Linked DNA regions of Homo sapiens: region 2 is linked to region 1. The links are contacts of gene promoters, found by promoter capture Hi-C in blood cells and fetal thymus (Javierre and others, 2016). All regions are on one chromosome and are shown on one strand. The core of a region is centred on a gene start or on the middle of the fragment in contact, and the rest is flanking DNA. Distances in the headings are between cores, read along the strand shown.

What was found. The method cuts DNA at HindIII sites, captures the fragments that hold promoters and counts their contacts. A CHiCAGO score of 5 or more calls a contact.
Region 2: a contact is called between a fragment that was not itself captured here and the fragment with the promoter of RASAL2-AS1 in region 1, in 1 of 17 cell types (M0 macrophages). The highest score is 6.4, in M0 macrophages.

Annotation. Positions count from the first base shown.
Region 1 is chr1:178,089,328-178,096,806 of GRCh38, reverse strand. RASAL2-AS1 (RASAL2 antisense RNA 1) reads left to right here and starts at 2,814. Exons shown (of 2, transcript NR_027982.1): 1 at 2,814-3,246; 2 at 3,395-5,299. RASAL2 (RAS protein activator like 2) reads right to left here and starts at 2,703. Exons shown (of 18, transcript NM_170692.4): 1 at 2,113-2,703. The coding sequence starts at 2,314. RefSeq lists silencers at 2,265-2,324, 2,475-2,634, 2,705-3,004, 3,055-3,104 and an enhancer at 2,726-3,227. The HindIII fragment of the contact is 4,675 bases long and covers 1-4,312 here.
Region 2 is chr1:179,311,535-179,319,013 of GRCh38, reverse strand. The region is part of intron 2 of SOAT1 (sterol O-acyltransferase 1); the gene reads right to left. Among named protein-coding and RNA genes, the nearest start is that of SOAT1, 21 kb to the right of the region's middle. The HindIII fragment of the contact is 1,919 bases long and covers 3,144-5,062 here.

The sequences.
Region 1 (7,479 bases), core at 1,565-4,064:
AAGGAAAGTAGCAATACTAAACAATAAATAAAAACAACTTCTGGTTAATTGATAGAGAAAACAAAAAAAGTTACAATGCAGTGGTAAGTCTGCAATTGGTCACAAAAATGCAAGGCATGGTATGTATATGTGTGTGTCACACACATATACATACCATGCATTTCTGTGATGTCTGATATGAAGTCTTGACATCAATTGAACCACGCAGAAAGAAAACTTCTAAGTCGTGGTCACTCTTGAACAATAAACATATATCCTGTTCAGAAGGACGAAAGAAAAAAAACATAATGTAAACTTGCTCTCACTCTCTCTCTCTCTTACACACACACACACACACACACAAAATATACAATATATATTTCACAAATCAACCCCTAGGAATGGACTACAAAACAACATACATTTGTAGACTTTTATGTCCTTACAAATGAAGAACGATAGTTAACACTAGGTCCAGAGAACCCAGATTGTTTTGGATACTGAAATACCGAATTATCATATACATGTATTCTTAGAATAGCATGGCCCTATTTCTAACATCACACAAATAAACAGTATGCCAAAGAAGTGTGTAAGGAGAGAAAGATGATAGAATGGGAAAACGTTGTAACTACAATATACTCTAATTCATATGCACTTTCAGATTCTCACCAACCTTTGTTCTAAATGACCAGCTAAGTGGGATTTAGCAGGCAGACGGAAAATCAGGCACCAAAGTTTTTAATCTAATTTGCTGAGAACAAACTGGGTGACCTTGCATCGTCTCCCACTCCTTTGCTTTAAATCTTCCGGTACGTAGAGTAACATCAAGAAACAGCCAGCAAAATACAAAGTGGTACACAAATCCTTAAGAACTGGTTATAAGAAGAATTCCTGGATTTTTATGATTAAAAGGGTCACTAGTGATGATTTAATCCAATCCACTCACTTTACAGATGAGGAATCACAAGCCAAAAATGTGACTCGATCTGCCCCAAATCCCATAGCCATTTAGTGGTAGAACTGAGACAAGAACTGAGATCTCTGGACTCCTAGTTCTATGATCTTTGCGATGGACATTAAGTCTTCAAATCAACTGAACTACACAGAAAAAAACCTAAGTCTTGGTCACTCTTGAATAGTAAGCATATACCCTGTTCAGAAAGATGAAAGAAAAAAACATAAGGTACTTGATCACTACAGGCTTAGATGCACAAGACTGCAGGATAACATCTTAACATTGTGTTTGATCCCAGGTGCTTCAAATTTGCCATCTTATACTCAGCCACGTTACTAATGTCTTCTGCAGTCACGTGAGCTAGGCGATAAACATCTTGCCGTTTCAATATTTTGGAAAGCCACAGCTCAGTCCTGAATGCCAGGCTATAAATCCTTAAGCTATGAGTTTTCAAAACCAGCATGGTTTTAGTGCTGCCACAAGGCTCACCCTAATAGAATCTCATCATTCAGTTTTAATTAAAGAGGTGGTTACCAGGAATGCAGAAAGGGAAAGTTTTAGTGTGTTCATCACTTTTAACCTGCTGAGTGGCAACCCAGTCACTTTACAACGAGATTCAGAAACAATAGTGTAATCTGAAACAATCCACACCCGTTGGAATAAGTGGTTGCTTTTAGAGAGAGTGAGGTTCAGGCAGAGGTTATAGATTAGTCTTGCTCCCACCAAATACATAGTTTGCATTTTTTTCATTCATTAGCTTATCCTCTGCTTTTTCATAATATCTTGGTTTCCAGTCTTGCCTCATTCAACAATAAAAAGAGACGAAAATCCATTCACTTGGTTTCATGGAGTTTTTCCATCATACCTTCTTGAAGATTGATTGCCTGGCTGTTCCCTTGAAGTAATCGCCTAAGAATTACGTCTTGGATAGCCCAACTCCCGCATTAAACTTACTGCAGGTGTCTGAAGAGGTCCAAAGACCATACTGAGTGACATCCCTGCCCAAGTGATAGTCTGAAGAAACTTGTCAGAAATGCACCCCCAGAACAAAAAGGGATGTGGGAAACTGACCTAGCACGGATGAGGACTGGGAATGAGCCTGTGACTTAGGGAATGAATTTCAGCCCAAGCAAAAATAGGAAACACCAGCCTCTAAGACGGCCTGTGGTCCTTACCGTACACCCGGACCCAGCTCTGTTGCTGGCACACGGACTCCAGAAGGATCCGATCCAACATGCCACCGGCGACGGCTCCACTGACTGGGACAACCGCGTCCAGGTCCTCCGGGGGCAGCGGCGAGTCGGACTCCAGCGCCGGGAACATCTCCGGCCAGGACAGCGCCTCCGCGGCTCCTCCGGACGACGGAGAGAGCTCCATGGTGCCCCGAGGCGGGAGGGGGACGAGGCGGCGGCTTCGGGGCGGGCTGGCGCGCGGCTCCGCGCCCTGCCTGCGGTAAGGGGAGGAGGAGAGCGCGCAGCGAGGGCAGGGACCCGAGCGGCAGCCGGCGCGGACACCTCTCACCTCCTTCCCCGTCGCCCACTGCCCGAGGCTCGGGCGATGCAGCCCACCTGCAGTCGGCGGGCGGGACCCAGGCCGGGAGGAGGATCCAGCGTGGCCCCGACCAAGGGTGGGTCCGGGCTCAGGTGTGTGTGGGTCCCTCCCGGGAGAGGACGCAGAAGAACCCGGGAGGGGAGGCTCGCCCTCCCACCTCCTCGGAGCCGCCTTCTTCAGCCCCGCCGGCGTCTCTCGCGGTCAGACCAGGCTCTGGCTGGGGATGGAGCGGGGCCGGGCAGGGCTGGGCTTGGGGGCGTCGCCGCCAGGGGCCGCCCCCTCTGACCGGCTCCCGCCGCCGCCGCCTCAGAAGCTCCGAGTGCCCGTTCCCTCAGCCTGAGGAGGGGTAGGGGGCGGTGGCCCCGGGTTCTAGCCCGCCTGTCCTCGGCCCCCACTTCTGGAATGAGCCTGCCCGCCCCCTGACTCTCAGGCCACAGCTCCGGCCACAGCTCTGGCTCCTGCTCCGCGGCGGATCCCACAAACCCGGCAGCCACGGCGGTGGCGGTGGCGGTGGCGGTGGCGGTGGCGGCGGCGGCGGCGGCGGCAGCGGCAGGCGGCATCCCAGGGTGATAGGCTGAAGCAATCGAGGGCCGAGAGCCCGGCCGCGTGTGCACTCGAGTAACGAAGCCGGGGAGGGACTGCGCCGCAGGCAGGAAAAGTCGGACACCGAATTATTCATCCGGCCTGTCCCGCCTACTTTCCAAGTACCCTCCCAGGGATAGCCGGGTATTGAGCGGTCCGGGTCTCTGCTGCTCAAAGTAAAGACCGTTTGAGAAGGCGGGGAGGTAAAAGGGTGCGGGAAATTTAAACAGAAAAGAAAGGAGCTTCCCTTCCTTCTCACACCTTTCCTATTTATTTGTTTCTTTCTTTCTTTATGGGCCAACGTTTCTTTCTTATTGGACAAAGAGATCGAAGAAGCTGCTTTATCTTACAGTCACCCAAGGGGGAGCGCCTTCTTCCTTCCCAGAGTGGAGTGGCAGTGGGTCCGGGATTCTGGGATATGCACAGGGTCTGCGCCCTGCGCCCTGTCCGCGCTGAAGCTGAACTTGTCATTGGTTTGCAACAGCATGGTGAAGAAGTGTGGTGTGGATGGACGGACGGGCCTCTCAGGCACATGAAATACTCAAAGCCCAGTATTAACCAAACATGTTTCTCTGTTTTGTCTTTGATCTTTGTGCAGTGTGTTGGCTTTTTTCCTTTAATGATGTCACTTGTATTTTATTTTTGGTTTATTTGTAGACTGTCTCCCTCCTTGGCCATGGCTTTACTTTTATGTCCACCCAAGGAGAGTTTCACCAGTTTAGGTTTAAGAAATTACTGACAAGTTAACAATAATAATTTCAAAATTGAACAGTAATAACTTAAACCGTGCCTTGGACATAGTAGATCTCCAACAGTTTTTCTTGAATGTGGCTACCTAATGTGGAACAAGATTTTTCATAATTACATGTTGCTATTTTTAATACCTTTTGGGAGGTTCTTTAGTCCCCCCCGCCCTTTCTCCCTACGTTGCACAAAGAGACTGGTCTACAAGGGGTCCTGTTAGTTTTCTGGTTTTGTGGGGTCCTGGAATATTGTTTGGGCTTATTGAGAGTTAACAAGGATGTATTTTGTGAGTTTCTCCAAAGTCTTATTTAGAGTAATAGTATTTCAAAGCAAGAAGTGTTTTAGAGAGAACATCATTCTGCCTCTTGTTTAACAGGTGAGGAAACTGAGGAAAAACCAGCTTACCTGGCTAATCAACCACAAGTACAGATAGTTCCACAATGACTCAATGGATATTACTTCAACTTTGTTCCCTCAAGAAACTTTTGTGATTAAGCTTGTTGATTTGTGGCTTGATGGTTTACAGGAATGGTCATTTTTAATATCTAGGACCCTGCTTGCTTGCTTGCTTGCTTGCTTACTAGACTGGCTGCATAGTCAGTCTTCCACGTGTAAACAACAGTGTGTGCTTTAGTGGATAAGAGATGTTGAGTGCTGAGATTTCAAGGCTCAGCACTGAGTAGACCTAGAGCATTTTTATTTATACTAAATTAATGCCATGGTAACATAAGTTAGACAGCAAGTGAATATGGCATCAAATGTACAAAGTTGAGTATCTCTTTACTAGTCAATGTATAAGGAATTTATTTACCCAAGCAATTATCTTAAAAACAGCATTACAAGTGGTATGCGAAACATTTCCAGAATTTATTTCCACATCTGCTCTTTCAGTGGCATCATCCATTCCTGAGCTCAAGAAAAGGCCTCTGCCAACCGCCAGTAATCCTGCTTTTTTAGTAATCCTACTATTTTTTTTTTAACTTTAAGTTCTGGGATACATGTGCAGAACATGCAGGTTTGTTACATAGGTATACATGTGCCTATGTATACCTATGTAACATGGTGGTTACAGTAAACATGGTGGTTTACTGCATCTATCAACCCGTCATCTAGGTTTTAAGCCCTGCATTCATTAGATATTTGTCCTAATGCTCTCCCTCCCCTTTCCCCCACGCCCCGACAGGCCCCAGTATGTGATATTACCCTCCCTGTGTCCATGTGTTCTCATCGTTCAACTCCCACTTATAAGTGAGAATATGCAGAGTTTGGTTTTCTGTTGTGTTACTTTGCTTAGAATGATGGCTCCCAGCTTCATCCATGTCCCTGCAAATGACATGAACTCATTCTTTTTTATGGCTGCATAGTATTCCATGGTGTATATGTGCCACATTGTCTTTATCCAGTCTATCATCGATGGCATTTGGGTTGGTTCCAAGTCTTTGCTATTGTAAATAGCACTGCAATAAACATACATGTGCATGTGTCTTTATAGTAGAATGATTTATAATCCTTTGGGTATATACCCAGTAATGGGATTGCTGGGTCAAATGGTATTTTGGTTCTAGATCCTTGAGGAATCGCCACAGTGTCTTCCACAATGGTTGAACTAATTTACACTCCCACCAACAGTGTAAAAGCATTCCTATTTCTCCATAGCCTTGGCAGAATCTGTTGTTTCCTGACTTTTTAATAATCACCATTCTCACTGGCGTGAGGTGGTATCTCACTGTGGTTTTGATTTGCATTTCTCTAATGACCAATGATGATGAACTTTTTTTCATATGTTTATTGGCTGCATAAATGTCTTCTTTTGAGAAGTGTCTGTTCATATCCTTTGCCCACTTTTTGATGGGGTTGTTTGTTTTTTTCTTGTAAATTTGTCTAAGTTCCTTGTAGATTCTGGACATTAGACCTTTGTCGGATGGGTAGATTGCAAAACTTTCTCCCATTCTGTAGGTTGCCTGTTCACTCTGATGATAGTTTCTTTTGCTGTGCAGAAGCTCTTTAGTTGGATTAGATCCCATTTGTCAATTTTGGCTTTTGTTGCAATTGCTTTTGGTGTTTTAGTCATGAAGTCTTTGCCCATGCCTATGTCCTGAATGGTATTGCCTAGATTTTCTTCTAGGGTTTTTATGGTTTGGGGTTTTACATTTAAGTCTTTAATCCATTTTCAATAATCCTACTTTTTAAATCCAAACGTTCCAGATACTGGTCCCTGCTTCACCTCCCTATCCTGACCCCAGACTAGCAGCAGGTCATTATCTAATTGCCTAAGTAATAGTATGTCTGAAATTTATCTAGTGTTCATAACTTAAAAATAAAATACTTTCACAGGCCAGGCATGGTGGCTTACACCTATAATCATAGTGCTTTTAGAGGCTGAGGCAGGAGGACCACTTGAGCCCCAGGAGTTTGTGACCAGCCTGGACAACATAGTGAGACCCTCATCTCTACAAAAAAATAGAAAAAAATTAACTGGGCCTGGTTGCAAACACCTGTAGTCCCAGCTACTCAGGAGGCTGAGGCAGGAGAATCACTTGAGTCCAGGAGTTTGAGACTGCAGTGAACCATAATTGCACCACTACATTCCAGCCTGGGCAACAGCATGAGACCCTGTCTCAAAAAAAAGAAAAGAAAGAAAGAAAATACTTTCACAACCTGAACAATAATTCTGTGAGATAAGTAGAACCAGTATTTTAAAATCATCATTTAGAGAATTTAAAAAAAAAATTAAGCATAGAATTGTATTAAGCAACCTACCTAAACATGGCTACTTAGGAGATTGAGATTAAAACTCAAGTCCCCTAATTTTTAATTTCATTAATAGATCTGGATTCCTGAAGAGTGTTTTTCTTTGGTGTTCTGACATTTGTAGAACCAAAAATAATATTTCATGGTTTTTGCAAATTATTATCATTTAAGAAAAATATCCCAAAAAATATTGAAGAAAAAACAAAACAAAAAAGTTGGAAACCAATTTGCATTGCTGGGAGGCAGTTAATCCTACTTGAACTTACACCAGTGGTATCTCCCCAGAGCCAACCCAGATTTTAATGTGAAGATAAATCCTTGGCTGATGAAGTCTTAGTTAACACTGTAGTTTGCAAACAGTCCTTTATGTGTGAACTACAAGAAAGCTCTCACACCCCTGCCTGCCTTCTCCCCTCCTCTTTCCTCCAGGTTTCAAGCTCCCAAAGGTGATCTACATATTTACTATCATTGGAATTCATAACATCAAGAATCAGACCCAAGTCCCCGGAGAAGTGGGAACTAAAAATTGGGTAACTATCGAGGAGAAGAAATAATAGTTTTCCTATGTCTAAAAACAAATGCTGGCACAAATCTGAGGTTTCTAAAAGACAGAAAGAGGCCTTTGGTTCTGAATACACATTGCCAGTAATAAAGAGAAGTATACATTACCAATAGTCAATAATAAGGGGAGATGAGGGTTTGGAATCTTGGCTGTCACAAAACTGAGGTCCGGGTATGGGTCCAGTTTTCTTCTTCATTCACACACACACACACACACACACACACACACACACACACACACGAGGTTCCCTCTTCACAAATGCTGTTAACTATTTTCTTTCCTTTTAAGGCAGGGCCTTGCTCTGTCGCCCAGGCTGGAGTGCAGTGGCATGATCTTGGCTCACTGCAACCTC
Region 2 (7,479 bases), core at 2,854-5,353, 1.2 Mb before region 1:
GAAGTTCCTCGACAGATTAAACACAGAGCCAACATAAGACCTAGGACTAGGTATATACACAAGAGAAATAAAAACATGCCCTCTCAAAAACTTGTATATGAATATTCATGGGCAGCATTAGTCATAATAATAGAAAGTGGAAACAAATACCCATAAACTGAAAAACAGATTAATAAAATGTAGTATATCCATAAAATGGATTAACAATAAACCAAAAGAAATATTAATACATGCTATAATATGGGTGAAACGTAAACATTTTGCCAAGTGAAAAGAGGAAGTCACAAAAGACTACATATCGTATGATCCTATTTACATGACAATGTCCAGAATAGACAACTACTGAGACAGACAAAACGCTGGTGGTTGCCTAGAGAGTGAGGCGCGGGGTTATGGCAAAAAGGGAATAACTGCTAATGGGTACAGGGTTTTGGGGAGGTGATGCTAAAAATATTCTAAAATTCATTTCATTCTAATTTCTCTGTTCTGAAATATTCTTTTCTGTATATTAAGTTACAGTAATGTAATTTCCTGGTGTTTAACCTGACTAACGGCGGTATTCTGACTGAGAATCTTTTTCGTAATTTTATAACAAAAATTGGATTTGAAAGGTATGACAGTATTTTTTATGAGAATGTGCTGCTCTGTATAACTCCTGTGTATGTATGGTGCATACTGAGCTTTATTATTGTCACAGATTTAGAGACAGTTTCTTATTTTCACACTGAATCATGGTACCATTATAATTTTAAAAGCAGTGGGATTAATTGATCTCTGCCCTTTTAATAAAATATGGGTAGAGTTTTGGGGGCTTTTTTTGAGACAGGATCTCACTCTGTCATCTAGGTTGGACTGCAGTGGCACAATCACAGCTCACTGCAGCCTCTAACACTTGATCTCAAGTGATCCTCCTGCATCAGCCGCCCCGCTAGCTGGGACCATAGATGTGTGCCACCACACCCAGCTAATTTTTTTTTAAGTGTTTTGTAGAGACAAGGTCTCACTATGTTGCCCTGGCTGGGCTTGACTTAACTCCTGGCCTCAAACAATCCTCCTGCCTCAGCCTCCCAAAATGCTGAGATTATAGGCATGTGTCACCATGCTTAGCCCAGGGTAGAGTTAATTTTGAATGCCATCTGCCATTATTCACAAATGAGTTTGTGAATAATGAGATACTAAATATCTTTATTCTATCCTTTTAATAAAGTGTCAAGTCATCTGTTATATTATGGGAACCGAGAAACATCAGACGTCATTATGTGCACAGACCTACACAGATAAGTGAATGAAACAGAATGGAATGAATACTGAAAACTGTGAAACAGAAAACCACAACGTCTAGTTTGCTATCTTCGTTAAAAAAAAAAAAAAACCTATGATGATGAACTATCACTTTGGCAGATGAATTTTTAAAATTGAGAATTTGTATTTTCTTATTTACTCTACATGGTAATAGCTTAAGTATTTTTTTTTTTTTTTTTGAGACGGAGTCTCGCTCTGTCACCCAGGCTGGAGGGTAGTGGCGCGATCTCGGCTCACTGCAAGCTCCGCCTCCTGGGTTCACACCATTCTCCTGCCTCAGCATCCCAAGTAGCTGGGACTACAGGCGCCCGCCACCACGCCCGGCTAATTTTTTGTATTTTTACTAGAGACAGGGTTTCACTGTGTTAGCCAGGATGGTCTCGATCTCCTGACCTCGTGATCCGCCCGCCTCGGCCTTCCAAAGTGCTAGGATTATAGGCGTGAGCCACCGCGCCAGGCCAGCTTAAGTATTTTTATTTCAGCATTGACAATTGCTATTGTATATTTTGCCTAAAAAGGAAGATTAAAAGCCATTCAAATTTATAAAAGTAATTTCCCAGAAAAAATACACTGAACAGAAATATTTACTTTGCCAAAATGAACTTTGGAGGCATATTTGGGGTAATTTAAGCTTAATAACCCCTTCCCTTAAAAACAAACCATAAAAACATAAAAACAAACTCATACACATACTGCTTTATAACCTGTTTTTTTCACTTAATATATTGTAAACATTTTTCTCTGTCATTACATATTCTTGTATATTATTTTCACTGCCCTATTACTCTGTTTTTATGGTAGAAATATAATTTAATCTTCTATTGGACATTTCTTTTCACAGTATGTCACTTGGAAGAAAGACATGAAGAATGAGAAGGTACAAAATGCATCTAATCAGAGCTCTATACAGAGAGATAATATTTGAGGTGATTATAGCTGAGAATTGGCCAGAACTGTTGAGAGACACAAATTCTAGGATAAAGTCAAAGAATTCCAAGCAGGATAAATAATCTACTTAGTGCCAGGCGTGGTGGCTCACGCCTGTAATCCCAGCACTGTGGGAAGCCAAGGCAGGTGGATCACCTGAGGTCGGCAGTTTGAGACCAGCCTGACCAACATGGAGAAGCCCTGTCTACTAAAAATACAAAATTAGCTGGCGTGGTGGCACATGCCTGTAATCCCAGCTACTCAAGAGGCTAAGGCAGGAGTATCGCTTGAACCCGGGAGGTGGAGGTTGCGGTGAGCCGAGATCATACCATTGCACTCCAGCCTGGGCAACAAGAGTGAAACTCCATCTCAAAAGAAAAAATAATAATAATAATCGACTTAGATATATCACAGTGAAACTGTCTGACGCAGGGGTTAAAAAAAAAAACTAAAAGCACCCAGAAAGAATATCAACTACGCAAGTACTGCAATTACAACGCATACCTGACTTAACATCAATGGAAGCCAGGAGACAGTGGAATGTCTTCAATTATCGATAATGGCAGAATTGATGACTGGGAAGAAGGCTAGGTCATATAATAACAAGGGCTTTGAGGAAACTAAGAATTTTATGCAGGAAAATACTGAGCTGATATTGGAAGATGGAAAGGACCACATAACAGAGAAATGCAATAAATCCGGACAAAAAGTGATGTTGTAAATGGCAAGGAGAATGGAGAGCAGAGGATTAATTTAAGATATTTACAAATTGGTAACTGATTAAGAAATATAAGGGTAAGACAAATGTCCATTTGATTTTTCAATAAGTTAAAGAATATATTTTTAATTTAGTTCTATGACCAGACCATGGTTTCATAAATGAACTATTTCATAAAAAAATGAAGACAAAAGCTTCTTTCCTTCAACTAATTCAGCTACCATGGGAGAGGAGGATTGGTAAGGAGACTGTAAAAGATTAATTCTCACTACTTGTGCATCCCTTCCAAAAAGAATCTGTCTATCCATAAATAACACGACAGCCATCATTACAAACAGGCTTTGAGATGCAGCCACTGGAAAGTTAGAAAAAAGATTTGTTCACAGAGTCTCTGAAGACCCCACTGAAAATGACAAAGTTAAGTAAGTGGAAGAAAAATATATTTTAAAATGCTAATTCATTTTCCTTTACCTTCAAAATACCTCTTCATACAATATTACAAAGAAATTCTTAACTTTCTACAATTTAAAATTTAAAAATTAGATGTCAAAGTCAAAAGAATGCCTAAAAGCTAATATCCACTGCTTTTTTTTTTTTAAGACAGGTTCTCACTCTGTTGCTCAGGCTAGGGGGCAGTGGCTATGGCATGATCATAGCTCACTGTGGCCTGGAACTCCTAGGCTCAAGGGATCCTCCCGCCTCAGCCTCCCAAGTACCTAGGACTACAGGCACATGCCACCACACTCACATGCCACCACACCCACCTAATTAAAAAAAATTTTTTTGTAAAGGCAGAGCCTCGCTATGTTGCCCAGGCTGGTCTTGAACTCCTGGCCTCCAGCAATCCTCATGCCTTGGCCTCTGAAACTGTTGGGATTACAAGGATGAGCCACCATCCCCACCCACATCCAATGATTTGAAGAACTATTTACAAGCACTCAACTCAAGGCTTCTCAATTTCTAAAACACTGACCCTGAAACAATGATAAGCCAGGACTGAGGGTGATGTAATTTCGGAATCATTTGCCTCCCTCTAGTAACACACTAACTGCTAACACTAGGAGTCAGTTATTTGCTATCTGAAACTTAATAGAACCCCGCATAAGTCCATAAGGAAAACTATTCAACATTTTTTCCCTTAAATTTCTGATTTCTAAAAAAATCAGGCTTGCAATACTTATCTTCATGAATAAATGCTATCTCTTTTAAAACCTGCTATACTTAATGGGAATGTTTAAAATTTATTCCTTGACATGTCAAAAATCTTATTTTAACCAGTTTTGATGAAAATTTTTGTAAAATTATGACATGCTTTGCTACCCTAAAAAAAACACCAGACTCCAGGCGTGCTGGCTCACGCCTATTATCATCCCAGCACTTTGTGAGGCTGAGACAGGAGGGTCACTTGAAGCCAGGAGTTTGAGACCAGCCTGAGCAACAAAGTGAGACCCCCCCATTCTCTACAAAAAAATAAAACAAAAATGTACTTTACCCTACATAATCTTCGGAACAAGTAAGAGAGATCCATTGTTGTACCATACTATTATAGTGATATCTTTAGCAAAAACGGAAATGTGGAGTGCAATCAGGCCCCACTCAGCAGTCCTGGGGAGCTGTGCCTTTCTACCTAGGCTGCTTCCACAGGGTTCTCCCTAACAATCGTACACTTCTATTACTATAGTCAATCTACCGCCAAAGCTACACAGAAGAAAAGAGACAAATAACCAGGCTTGTTAAATTGGTAACTAATTTACTCAATTTATATACTCATGCATTAAGTAAAAGCCCACTGAGGACCCAATACATGCAGGGCAAACCCTCCCTTCAGGATCTCAGGAGAAAACTACAAATAGGGAAAAGGACAATACAGAGGAGCGCTGTGGGAGAATGAGGGGTGTAGGAGGCTTTTGCAGGAGTCAATATTTGAACTGAGTCTCAAATAATAAAGAAAAATTATGGTGAACAAATGCTAGAAACATTATTCCAGGCAAAGGAATGAAGCATGAAGACTTGTTGGATTTTTCTGAGGCCTGAAGCTCAGTCAGATGCCTCTTAATGCCATGCTCTCTTTTCTTGACAATATTGTATTTAATAGGCTTTGGCCTAAGGGAAGCTTATCTACTTACTTTCTAGGCCACCAGTTACATTCCTGATCAGTGTCGTCCTATAAACATACAATGTGTGGCCAGGCACGGTGGCTCACACCTGTAATCCCAGTACTTTGGGAGGCCGAGGCAGGCAGATCACCGGAGGTCAGGAGTTCGAGACCAGCCTGACCAACATGGGGAAACCCCGTCTCTACTAAAAATACAAAATTAGCCAGGCGTGGTGGCGCATGCCTATAATCCCAGCTACCTGGGAGGGTGAGGCAAGAGAATCGCTTGGACCTGGGAGGCGGAGGTTGCGGTGAGCAGAGATAGCACCATTGCACTCCAGCCTGGGCAACAAAAGCAAAACTCTGTCTAAAAAAAATATATATATACATATATATACACACATATACATATATATATACACATATATACACACATATACATATATATATACACATATATACACAGACATACACATAAAATGTGAATCACCATGTGTAATTTTAAAATTTTTAGGAGCCACATTAAAAAGTAAAAAGAAATGGGTGCCAGTAAGTCTCTGAAATCTGACATATCATAACTATAGTGTTTCTCAATCCAGACTAGCCACATTTCAAGTGCTCAACCAGACTACATTAAACAGTGTACTTCTAGTGGCAACCATATTGAACAACGTAATTCTAGATCAAGAGTCAGAAAGCTTTTTCCGTAATGGGCAGTATAGTCTGCAACTATGTAACAACTACTCAACTCTACTGTGATAACAGGAGAAAGCACTACAAACACAAAAGAATGAACACGGCCACGTTTGCCAACTTTGTTCTAGATGGCCAAGTTTACTGTAAATCTGGTTGGCAAATAAAACAGACAAGTACACACACATTATTTTTTATAATGTAACACAGCCATGGTGAACACTGCCGGTTGCTTCCCAAATAAGGACATGCATGTCACTGCCTTTGCGAGAAACTGATTTAAAAATGGACCTGAGTATCAGACAGCAAAGAGATGACCCACTCAAGCTTATTGACTGGGAAAAATTTAAAGAGGTCCTTTTTCTAGTGTGTGGTCAGAGTTTAAGAAAAGCAACAAAGGATGGTAATAAGGATGATATGGAATTCTAGGGCTAGTAATAAACATCAGGAAAGCTGTTACCATCCTGAGGCCAGAAAGGGCAAAGCGGGTAAAGGGTTAGTGGAACCCAGAGAGAACTCTTTAGAGAGAAATATTAGAAAGGAGCAATGGTTACCTACCAGGGAGAGAACCTTAGTTATAAATACACCCACCTTACTCTCTGCTCTTAGATCTCCTGAAGTTCTCCCACTGGCCAAGCCTACCAGAAACACACAGGGCACTGGAGACTATTGTTGCAGTTCTTAACGTCAGTCTCCCAGGAAACAAAGTAGCGTAGAAAAGACTGGAGAGGCAAAAGGTAGATAGCCAGCATAACTTGTAATCTAACTCTGGCCAATGAGACACGAGAAGTCTGTAGGGGAATTTCTAGCGAAGGTTTCATCGCTAAAGAGAAAGACAGGGAAAGAGACAGTTTCTCTTCTGATAGAAGTCATCATTTTGGTTTTCCAGTTTTCTTAACCAGCACGGACTTACTAACCCTCTGTCATTATTTCTATCTGTCCCTTATCACCACCACCAATTTCCTGGACCCACCATGCCACACGCCGACTCCAGAAATTACCCGCTATCTGCCTTCTGATTCCAAATTGCCATGCGCTACAGAAAAAGTTAGGAAAATAGGCCCATTCTAAACTGCTGCAGTCAAGCCTTAGGCAGGCCAGCAATGAAAATATGCAATCTTTGTCTCTGCCTCTTGATGAATTTCTGTGACATTCCTCACAAAAGTAGTTGGAAACCTTTTCCACTTTCAAGTCCCAGCCCCACCAAGTAACTTTTAGTTGTTCAGTTTTGGTACCAAATCCTTAAATGTCTTCTATGTTTCTTAATTTTTGCTGTCTTTCAACCTCTTCTCCAACATTTCTGTGTCAGAGGAAAGAGTAGCCCATCTCTTTTTCAAGACTAACCCTTCAAACTATTATTGTCTTAATCATTCCCTATTCAAAAAGTTCAACCCACTGAGTCAATTATATTGTCCACATTTAAATTCAGAGACAATTTGTTCTTTAAAAATCATGTTTCAGAAATTATGATATGGATGTCATCAGTGATACTGAAAATAAAATCTGTAGTTCTACTAACACTTATCAAGTTATTATATATTTAATTTGTTTTTTAAAAATAAGTAATTGAACATCAAACCTATGATTTAACAATTTATTACTTAGGTTGAGAATAAATTTTCAAGTGAATTTTTTAAAGTTACATAGTAATAGTAATATAATGGCAAAATAACTGAAATTTAGAAACGATTTTTTTTTTAAAAACAGTCCTTTTGAAGATCACTTAACCCTCATGACATGCTGT